Linked DNA regions of Homo sapiens: regions 2, 3 and 4 are each linked to region 1. The links are contacts of gene promoters, found by promoter capture Hi-C in blood cells and fetal thymus (Javierre and others, 2016). All regions are on one chromosome and are shown on one strand. The core of a region is centred on a gene start or on the middle of the fragment in contact, and the rest is flanking DNA. Distances in the headings are between cores, read along the strand shown.

The links. The method cuts DNA at HindIII sites, captures the fragments that hold promoters and counts their contacts. A CHiCAGO score of 5 or more calls a contact.
Region 2: a contact is called between a fragment that was not itself captured here and the fragment with the promoter of ANAPC4 in region 1, in 6 of 17 cell types (fetal thymus, naive CD4 T cells, total CD8 T cells and 3 more). The highest score is 9.0, in fetal thymus.
Region 3: a fragment that was not itself captured here is called in contact with the fragment with the promoter of ANAPC4 in region 1 in 3 of 17 cell types (fetal thymus, non-activated CD4 T cells and total CD8 T cells); the score reaches 6.6 in fetal thymus.
Region 4: a contact is called between a fragment that was not itself captured here and the fragment with the promoter of ANAPC4 in region 1, in 1 of 17 cell types (megakaryocytes). The highest score is 5.5, in megakaryocytes.

Annotation. Positions count from the first base shown.
Region 1 is chr4:25,375,859-25,378,558 of GRCh38, reverse strand. ANAPC4 (anaphase promoting complex subunit 4) reads right to left here and starts at 1,296. Exons shown (of 29, transcript NM_013367.3): 1 at 1,215-1,296; 2 at 1,003-1,141. The coding sequence starts at 1,131. RefSeq lists enhancers at 894-963, 994-1,053 and a silencer at 1,174-1,593. The HindIII fragment of the contact is 5,076 bases long and covers 1-2,700 here.
Region 2 is chr4:24,550,805-24,553,504 of GRCh38, reverse strand. The region is part of intron 5 of DHX15 (DEAH-box helicase 15); the gene reads left to right. Among named protein-coding and RNA genes, the nearest start is that of MIR573, 32 kb to the right of the region's middle. RefSeq lists an enhancer at 1-315. The HindIII fragment of the contact is 3,436 bases long and covers 1-2,700 here.
Region 3 is chr4:24,567,429-24,570,128 of GRCh38, reverse strand. All of the region lies in intron 3 of DHX15 (DEAH-box helicase 15), which reads left to right. Among named protein-coding and RNA genes, the nearest start is that of DHX15, 16 kb to the left of the region's middle. The HindIII fragment of the contact is 520 bases long and covers 1,169-1,688 here.
Region 4 is chr4:24,532,873-24,535,572 of GRCh38, reverse strand. It overlaps DHX15 (DEAH-box helicase 15), which reads left to right. Exons shown (of 14, transcript NM_001358.3): 12 at 2,519-2,700. Among named protein-coding and RNA genes, the nearest start is that of MIR573, 14 kb to the right of the region's middle. The HindIII fragment of the contact is 1,169 bases long and covers 710-1,878 here.

The DNA of each region.
Region 1 (2,700 bases), core at 47-2,546:
TGCCTCCCGTCTACCTTCCCTCCTACTTCTGTGACGGTACCACCTGCTGCTCTCTAGAGCCACAACAGAGTTTCAAAGCATCCCGGCAGCGGAGGGAGACTAGCTAGATTTCATGGAGGGCCCTGAAAAATTAGACATCAATACCCTGGCGACTGGATCATGGTAGATAACATGGTGCAGACTACAGTCTGCAGGGTGCTAAGATTTCCTTATCACCTAGTTTCCAAATTTGGCTCTATACAACTCTCACATGGCCAGATAACTCTCAAGCCAGAGGCGGAAAGATGCACAGGTGAAGGTTTCCTTACAAAATGGCTGGCAGGTAATAACTCTCAGCAGAAAGTTGGGTACAACTGGTTTATACTCGATGAAGTTTTATGTGAACAAGAAATGCTGATAACACCCATGCACGTTCTGTCTGGAATCCAATGCATGCCTTCCTTGTCCAATTTAGAGGTATTTTTAGTGGAGGGTGGTTATCCAACCCGTACTATAAAACGTGGACAAGAGAAGCCAGGTTCTTAAATATATCCTGTGTGGCAGCTACATGCAGGCACATTTGCAGCTGAAGTTTGACAATAACTCTTCCTACTGCTATTAAAACTGTAAGCAAACTTAGGGCAGGGTCCCTGCATCTACCATTATGTCTAGCTCATGAGCAGCACATAGTGGGCTTTTTTAAAAAGTTCATTTAACTAATAAACCAATGAGTGAAGAAGACTTGGGGAAGCAGGATTGCGTGACGGTGTTAAGCTGTGTGAAAACTGTTACTTTAGCCATAAAAGTACCGAAAATAGCACAGACATCACCTTTCGCATATATACTTAAAGTTTACTGCCGTCCTGGGAGGCAGGGAAGGGGTAGCAGGTGGCCAGCCATGTCTGCAGAAGGGGAAACTGAGGCTCCGGCCGCCTGTGGCCCGAATGAACAGGCTCGGGCTCGGTGTTCTTGGGCCCCCCGGGAGCAGACCCAGCACAGGCGGGCTCCCGCCGGCTCACTCACCTCGCCAGCTGTGTTGGCCAAAGCAATGAGATCCCGCTTGGGCGACCAGACCAGGAAAATAATCTCCTGCGGGAGCTGCTTCTCTCCCACCACCCGGAAGGATGGGAAACAGGTCGGAAAACGCAACATGGGGACGGCCCTGCAACGACACCCCAGTCAGAGGCCGGCAGGAGCCCCCGGCTCTCCACGAGGAGCCCCGACCGCGCCTGTACCTGCAAGAGTCCCCACCGGCAGACTAACACGGCCCCAGTGGCCTCTCCCCTCCCTCTGCCGGCCGCGCGCCACAGCCTCCAGGCCGCCCCGCCCCGCCGCTGTCGCGCGCTCCAGGCACTTCCGGCGTCGGGACTGCCTCGCGAGAGGAGGAGGAGGGGCGGGGCGCGCACCGGTCTTGGGGGTGCTGAGAGCCAGAAGGGGCGGACAGGGACGGGGCGCGGTGGGCGGGGCAGGGAGGAGCGAGGGGCGGATCGAGGTGGGGGTAGGATGGGGCCCGTGGGCGGGGCAGGGAGCAGCGATGGGGCAGAGCTAGGAAGGGTGGGGCACGCGGGCGGGGCAGGGAGCCCCGAGGGGCGCGGAGAGGGAGGGAGCCGCGCGCCGGACCCAGGTGCTGGTGGGATCGCTGGGCGCCGGGACCTGAAAGGGCCCGAGAAGGGCGGGGCAGGCCCCTGCGGCCACACGCAGGTCTTTTGGGAACCCGTGTGTGCACGTGTGTGGGCATGCTTGCATACCTTTCCCGTTTTCCCGGAAATTCTCTGCTGTGGGCAAAGGGACGGTAGGGGTTTATGGGGTAGGCTTCAGCGACAACGGGGAGATGAAAAAGAATATGAACTTTAGGTCCTGATCAGCTGGCGCCTCCTCTAACAGTTACTAAGCGAGTAGTTCTCATGTCAGTCCTGGTGGGTCAGTATAGAATTTTAAAAGTCCCCCTGTCCAAGCAGCACCCCAAACCAATTAGAAGAAAATTAACCCTGGATGGGCCCAGTATTTACTAAAACTCTTTGGGTGATTCCAATTTGGAGAGAAGAGGCGCGTGCCCTAAAACCTCCCTAACAGGCAAATAATACTGTGACATCTCATCCCATTTAACCCTCACAACTTATTGGTAGTTGCAGCACCGTCATAACGAATAAAGAGTGTGGGCTCAGGGCCGGGCGCGGTGGCTCACGCCTGTAATCCCAGCACTTTGGGAGGCCGTGGCGGACGGATCACAAGGACAGGAGATAGAGCCCATCCTGGCTAACATGGTGAAACCCCGTCTCTACTAAAAAATACAAAAAAGTAGCCAGGCATGGTGGCGGGCACCTGTAGTCCCATCTACTGGGGAGGCTGAGGCAGGAGAATGGCGTGAACCCGGGAGGCGGAGCTTGCAGTGAGGCGGAGCTTGCAGTGAGGCGGGGCTTGCAGTGAGGCGGAGCTTGCAGTGAGCCGAGATTGTGCCACTGCACTCCAGCCTGGGCAACAGAGCCAGACTCCGTCTCTAAAATATAAAAAAAGAGTGTGGGCTCACACACGATTTCTTCTATAGGTACTTGGGCATTTACTATGTGGAGGAACTGAGGCTACAGCAATGCATGGGACGGGAACTCTGCCCAGAGGCTCACAGGCCAGCCTGGCAGACTTGTAAATCAGAACTCATCTGATGTTGCTTTATGTAGGACACATTTAAATGAGTCAACCTGTTGACAGTTCCCACAGCTATGA
Region 2 (2,700 bases), core at 57-2,556, 830 kb after region 1:
ACCACACCTGGCCCCAAAATGCTTTTTTGATGGCATATAAACAGCATTTGTGCTGTAATGTAGTATTGAGGCTGTTGGGATAATCGTTTTGTCCTCTTGTGTCTGGTCTCTAGTTTCTCATTTCCTCCAAAGTGCATAGTATATTTTTATTTTTATTTATTTTGTTTTATTATTTATTTATTTGAGATGGAGTTTTGCTCTTGTTGCCCAGGCTGGAGTGCAGTGGCGCGATCTCGGCTCACCGCAACCTCTGCCTCCCAGGTTCAGGTGATTCTCCTGCCTCAGCCTTCCGAGTAGCTGGGATTACAGGCATGCGCCACCATGCCCAACTAATTGGTATTTTTGGTAGAGATGGGGTTTCTCCGTGTTGGTCAGGCTGGTCTTGAACTCCCAACTTCAGGTGATCCACCCGCCTCGGCCTCCCAAAGTGCTGGGATTACAGGCGTGAGCCACTGCACCTGGCCATATTTTTATTTTTTAAATCACTATTTAAAATTGTCATCATTCTCAGATAACATAAGCGTATTGAGATTCTATCAGAAATATCAAATGGCCTCATGGTTAAGGACCCGAAAGGTTTTTCTCTGAGACAACTTTGTGCGGTATTTTCTGTGAATCCCACAGCTGGGGAAAGGAAGGGAGTAAGCCGAAGGGTTTTCAGATGTATGCTAGAGTGTCTTTCATGAAATAAAATGCTGCTCTAGTTGTCAGCTGTTTTTTTGCATACCATTGCTTCTTTAAGTTATCTTTAGATTCCCAGTCTTGAATTTGAAGAGTTTTGGGGAGAAGGTAGCAGAAAACCTAACGTTTTGTTTACATTTCATTTGTTGTATTTAGTAGTAGAGCTGGTCTAAAGTAAATATTACCTTCTCATTTTTGTGAACCTTCATTATTTTTACTTGGTAAGTTAAATGCAACTGCGAAATCAGTACTCCTTTCTTCATAAATTTGAATAGCCTCCATGAAATTGAGTAATCTCATAAAAATTTAAAACTGGTTTTTAAGAACATATTCTGACCACTAAATAAAAGTGCTTCTGTAGTCACATGAGTTAATTTGGGAGGGAGAGAGAACAGTTTAAAGTGTTGCCTAGATAGTAATTAGATAAGAGTGATTGTAATTAAATAATTTTATTTTTAATTTTGCTTAGTAAATTTTTTTTTCAACATGCAGTGAGTTAATTGGTAAGGTCCAGATTAATTTACTAACATATTGCTGCTTTTGGAGTTAAAAATCTTTTCTCAAATCAAAAACTCCTGAACTGTCTGTCTTTATTCTCAGTATTGCTAATGACTAAGCAGATGGCTGCTGTTGAAACTTCTTTTCCTCCACTACCTGTTTCTGTTTATATTCTGATGAATGCAGATAAGTTTTGTGGCATTCTCAGCTGATAGTGTTGACTTCTTGGAAGTTTGGCAAACCTCAGGGAAAATTTTTATTGCAAGTTTTAAAGCTGTTTAGGACTTTATCTAAAAACTTAAGTGTTACGGGATTTCTTCCACATTTTAGAGATGCCTTTATATCCTACATAGTCATCATTTTGTTTTAGCTCCTTGCATACTTAGCAGATTGGGTAGTCTAATCTCCAGTAAAGTTGGAATTGTCATTTTAAAATACTGGAATCACAAAGCAAATGTCTAATTTAAGCACTTAATTTTTAATGTGTGAAATCTGGATATTTTGTGATTTCTGAGCATTTATTTTTCATTTATGTACAGTAAAATTAACAAAATTGCAGATACTCTTAAATGTTGGAATCCTAGTTTTATATTATGTTCAAATGTTTTTTAAGTTGGAGAGCTCTTAATTTTTTATTTGCATGCCAGCAGGGGGCATTCTAATCTAGATACAACATTTGAAAGCAGTATTTTCAAAAAATATTTGTTCGCTTTGTTATATTTTTTATTTAGATGAATAGCATCTACTTTCATTTTCTTTTAGAAACTTGAGATTTCAAAGGAGGATCTAGTAACATTGAATCTTTAATAGTTTTCTGTGTCACAATTTTTGAGACAGATAACCTTTAAAAAAAACTGATGTGTTTGAAATAAGTGAAAAGTAATTTATTTGTTCTTACTGTGTTTAAGAACGTTGTGTTTTTTGATATAGAGACACAGTTGGACATTAAAAAAATATAAAGTAAATGTCCTAAAATTCTTCCTCACCGTTTAGTATCATTGTCCTTTGAAAAAAACACGCACTTTGTTGACAAGGGTAGCTTCTGATTGGGTCATTTATTGGACAGGCTGCCTAGTGTATAATAAGCGTTTTACATACTTCTGGGTTTAATTGAATTAATACTTCAATAAAATTTAGAATACATTTGTCCGCAGTGCTGCCTTCCATTTTTAAGTTCCTTTGCCTCTCCCAGAGCTATCATACATAATCTGTCTCTCTCTTTTTTTCCGTCTTGATATTCATTATGTCTCCTCTTGAATGCACATGTGTTAGAATATAGTCATGTGCCACATAACAACGTTTTGGTCAAGACAAACTTCTCAGATAGCTGTGGTGCTGCTCCCGTAAGATTATAGTGGAGCTGAACGTAACCTTGCAGCATCACAGCACAACACATTACTCACTGCTTTGTGATGATGCTAGTTCAAACAAACCTACTTTGCTGCCAGTTGTTTTAAAAGTACTATATAGTATGTACAATTATGTCCAGTACATAATAATAATGATAATAGGACATTGTTA
Region 3 (2,700 bases), core at 179-2,678, 810 kb after region 1:
GATAATTGACTACTGTATTGAGCTTTCTAATGTTTTAACTCTACCAACTTTTTATTGTCTTATACTTGCATTCTGCATAAGTTATGATGTATGCTACCTGATGATGATTCTTTCTCAAGTCTTCCCTCTGGTTGCTTCTGCTTATTCTGTATTTATGTGATATTTAAGTCCTTTTAAATGTGACTTGTTTGAGTGGGGCTCAGTGGCATATGCCTGTTTATTCCCAGCCACTTCGTAGGCTGAAGCAGGATTATTGCTTGAGGCCAGGAGTTCAAGGCTACAGTGTGCTCTGATCATGCCTGTGATAGCTACTGCATTTGAACCTGAGCAACATAGCAAGACCACATTTCTTTTAAAAAAAAAGAAAAATCATATCTATGTGATCTTCTCCCTGAGGTTTTTAAAAACCATTTTGGAGCGTTGTGTAGGCAGTGATATGAGTCTTTGTTGTCAGAGTCTTTGTTGTCAGAGAGATATATAGTGTTAATGGGATAAATGAAACAAGAGTCTCTCTTTTTTTTTTTTTTTTTTTTTTTTGAGATGGAGTCTCACTCTGTTGCCCAGGCTGGAGTGCAGTGGCGCCATCTCGGCTCTCTGCAACCTCCGCCTCCCGGGTTCAAGCGATTCTCCTGCCTCAGCCTCTCAGGTAGCTGGGACTATAGGTGTGCGCCACCATGCCTGGCTAACTTTTTGTATCTTTAGTAGAGTTGTGGTTTCACTATGTTGGCCAGGCTGGTCTCTAACTCCTGACCTCATGATCCGCCCGCCTCAGCCTCCCACAGTGCTGGGATTACAGGCGTGAGCCACTACACCCAGCCGCAGAAATTGAATAGAATAATGAACTGCATGTGTTTATCATCGACTTTTAACTATTTCAGTCTTATTTATTTCATATCCAATCTTAATTTATTTCCCTGTCCCATGTTATTTCGAAGCAGTCTTAGATACCAAATAATTATATATATAAATATTTCAGTGTGTATCTCTGAGATAGTTTCTTAAAATAGAGCTATCATAACTTAAAACAATTTATTGGATCAAAATATCCAGTTTTCATTCAACATTTGTGTCAGTTTTTTCTAATTCTTTGATTTATCTCATTTTATTAGAACTTTTTATTCAGCGTGATATTTAATAGCAGTTGAACTTTAAAATATTTAAATAAGCTTATCCTTATGACTTTATGGGACATATTTTTGGCTTAAACCTTAATCTTCACTGAATAAATTCTTGTAGTTGTTCAGTGATACGTTATTGATCACTGGTAATTACAGTATAATTGACAATAATTGCATAAGCAAAATCATAGCTCATTATGTTGTATTACTTTAAAATGCAGGTAATGTCAAGGACTTGAGGATAATAAGGGGGAGATTTTACTCATCTTTAGGAGGAATATCATTATTCTGACTTGATTCACATTGCATTGAATTTTTTTGGTAAGCCACAGTTGAGAACAGAATTTGGAAATTGGGATACAAGAAAGTTATGCAATATTGGTGCTGTGTGTATGTGTAGTAGGAAGTGGGTGGAGGATAGGCTTTCAAAAGATGAGTACCTCTGAAAGATTTTGGTTCACTTCATAGGGAATGACAAGTAACAGATTTTATAGTTCAAATGAAGTATTTTTGGCATTGTGATTTTTTTAATGGAGCATTTTCTAGAGGTTATAACTACTTGTAAAAGCTTACTTAAGACAGGGTAAGCTTATTGGGGTTTCTTCTAGGAGCTAACCTGGTGTTGCCTTTAAGTAATATAAGTAAAGGAGTGTATTATTACAATAAGTTAGCTTAAAATTTAAAAATTTCAAATGTAACTTTGCTATTTGATAGGAAGAACTTAACTAATGGGAATGCTTCATTAAATGTAGCTCTTATCATATATAGATATAAAATGCTTATATATCCATTGTGTAGCCAGGGCGAACTTTAATTTTCACTCTAGGGTGGTAAAGAGGCTAACTTAGGCAGATTATGTTTGAGGAGCACAGAATTTAACCATAGTTTGAGAGCATTTTAGCTAAATAAAGTATCTTTAAATTGTCCGCATATAGATTAAGGGTCTATAAGATAGTTTCTTCAGTGTTTGGGATACCTATTCATAAATTTTAGGTTATAGATCTGACACTGTGCTCTTTTCGGAAGATTGGATCTGGTATAACTTAGTGCACACTCTGTTAGTCTAGCCTTAAATGGCTACCCCATCCCAGTGAACAAGTAAGTTTACAAAGCTGCCACTCCTAAATGGTTTTTATATTTCCTTTTTTATGTGTTTGCTTGTCCCCATCCTTTTCTTCTGAAGCATTCTTTTTGCAACATACTTACTTTCCTGTTTTCTTGGAGTGGAAATTATGAAGAAAAAACCCAAAGAGATACCTAAAGAGCTTACCAGTCAGGGAACAATATATTGCTGTATTTGTGACTAGTCAGTGTAAAATACCTTGATTCATTTTGATGTAAGGAAGGAGAGGTTGTTGGCTTCTGGTGTAGCCCTTTTGCAGTGGATTTTAAGAAGCATTTGTCTGTGGTTGTAACTTTTTTTTTTTTTTTTTGGAGACGGAGTCTTGCTCTGTCGCCCAGGCTGGAGTGCAGTGGCACGATCTCGGCTCACTGCAGCCTCCACCTCGCGGGTTCAAGCCATTCTCCTGCCTCAGCCTCCCAAGTAGCTGAGATTACAGGCCCCCGCCACCACGCCCAGCTA
Region 4 (2,700 bases), core at 45-2,544, 840 kb after region 1:
ATGAAACCACAGGCTGAAGACCAGCACATGGTTTACCTTAGAACAGTTATTTAATCTTTCTTGTATCCAAATACTGGTATTACCTAGCGTTAAAGACTTACCCCTGATTAGACAGATCTACTCAAAAAACCTACTGTATTCCTCTTCTATGCGAAACATGCTGGGTGACCAAGAGATACATAACCTATTAAAGCCTTGAGAAGGAACAGATTCAGTCAGAGGGGATGTAGTAAGTTAAAATGGTGTTATCCACTCACTAGATGTATGACCTATTTCTGATAAATACATCAAAATACTACTTTCTACATCAAAATACAACTAATAAAATAGAAAAACGGACAAGTATGAATGATGGTTCTTAGGCTACAAGTGGCCTGTAAACAAGAGGTGGAAAAGTTCAAGTCTATTGTTTGCCCAAGAAATGCATTATTAGTGAGAGGTACTATGATCTCTCACTGCCAAAGGGATGATTAGCCATTGGTGGTTTTTAGGGGTTTGCAGTATGTGATGACTTGACATTTGGTAGAGCTGTCCTTATTAGTTAAAGGTGAGGATTTAGCCTTTAATCACTGATTGCCACCTTTTCAAATAAGAGAAGCTCTTAAAAAAAAAAAAAGCAAAAAACTTTGCCAGATCCCCACGTGTTATTATTTCGATATATCCATATATATATGGATATGAAAATATTTGGAATATTTTCACGAAAGCTTTTTAAATGGTTGTATGTTATTAATTGAAACATTGAGTATATTTGAAAAAAGCGTGTTTCAGATACTGGTCAAGATGTTTTGCATTAGAGACAATAGTTGATTACATAGTGAAGCTAAAATGTCATGTCAATTAAAATGTTGTCTTAATACTATTTATGTAAATAACCCTTTGAAATCGAAAACTAGATTCAAGTTATTTTGCAGTACCTTGATCTGTCTAGGGAGGGGAGATTTCTCTCTAAAAATCAGACAAATGGTTTGGCTTTAGATCTTAGGGGTGGTTTACTGTATTGGTGAGAGATAAACAGCTAGAATTATATTAATGTTTCCAGTTTTAGATTTAATTTTCCCATTTACCCAATTATTTCTCACAAGTTTAGAAATACAGTAGAACCATCAGATGTTAGTTACTAGTCATTTGTTCTTAACAAATAACTTAGATTTGCAATTTTTCCATCTGTAGTACATGAATTCTAAAAATTGAGAACCACACAAAAAAGCTACATTTCAAGCCATAGTCTGCAAATCAACAACCTTTTCAAAAATTTGCCTTTTTATTGTCCAGCTTGGGCATTTTTCTGCCTTTCAGCTTGTTACAGAGCATCAGCATAAGTAAAATTACCTCTAAGGTGTGCTGTTTCAGCTCCCAAAGATATTCAGTGCTTTGATTTAAATGTCAATGGCTTCAGATGGTTAACTTTTATTTCTCATTCCAGATGGATTAATTAATGGGTGTTCTAATATGTTATTGTATTCTTTAATTCAAAAATCTATTTCCTATCTCCACCTCACCCATCCTTAATTTCTGAAATGGGGATGCATTTTGTAATGGATAAAAATGTACTTATATATTTGTTATGTCTAAAAAACATTAAGGCAGAGTTATACACTATAACTGGTAGAATCCTAGAACCAAAGAGAAAAGAGTATGCTGAAGATAAGCATACATCACAGTAGCAAGAGAAGGATCAACAGTTTTAATTTTTGTTTTCTCTCTCCCATTTCACAATAACCCTGTTAGTTTTATTTATCAAAGGTCCTCTGAAATAAATAATGCAATTCTTTGCCATGACTGTCTTTGGCACATGAAAGATGTCACTGTAAAATTTCTTTCATGATGCTACAGGTTGAGCTCTTTAAGTGAGCAACACTAGGCTAGTTGGAAGCTTATCAAGGATTCATCAGTGGAGAAATATCCTTTTGATAATACATGTAATAAAATTACTTGAAGTGCTTAGACTTAGGTCTTGTTTATTAAACATGAGTGGAGGTTTCGGGCATCCTTGTAAACTTTCTTCTGTTTCAGGACTTGCTCATAAATTGCTGAGAGACACGTGTGTCGCAATAAAACTTTGCCGTCTTTAAGTCTGAGGTGCTCTGTGTCAGGCATAAAGAACAATACACAACAATTGTTTGCAGTTATCTTAATCTAAAGCTGTAGTTTCATTGAAAATGAACAGGCCATGACTTTTACCAAATACTTCCAGCCTTCCCTTATCTGATAGACCATCTTTTGGAAACAACCAGGTGGATGTTAATGGGAGAAGTAATTCACTAAAAACAGTTAATTCAAAAGCATTGTTTTGGCATCCAAATCCAAAAGCCTTGTTACTGTTTCTAATGTTGAATCACACTACAGATCTTTGAGAAAGTTGGTAACATTGCAGTTCATTTAAAGAAAATGTTGTGGGTAAATCTCCTTTCTGGTTTATTTAGCTTATTCTTTATAACAATTTTTTTAATTAGAGAACATTCCTGTGTGGGTGATTCATGGTGCCTTCTTTTCTCCCCGCCTTCTACCTTTTTAGATCATGAATCGGTTCAGTGGTGTTATGACAACTTCATTAACTACAGGTCCCTGATGTCCGCAGACAATGTACGCCAGCAGCTATCTCGAATTATGGACAGATTTAATTTGCCTCGTCGAAGTACTGACTTTACAAGCAGGGACTATTATATTAATATAAGAAAAGCTTTGGTTACTGGGTAT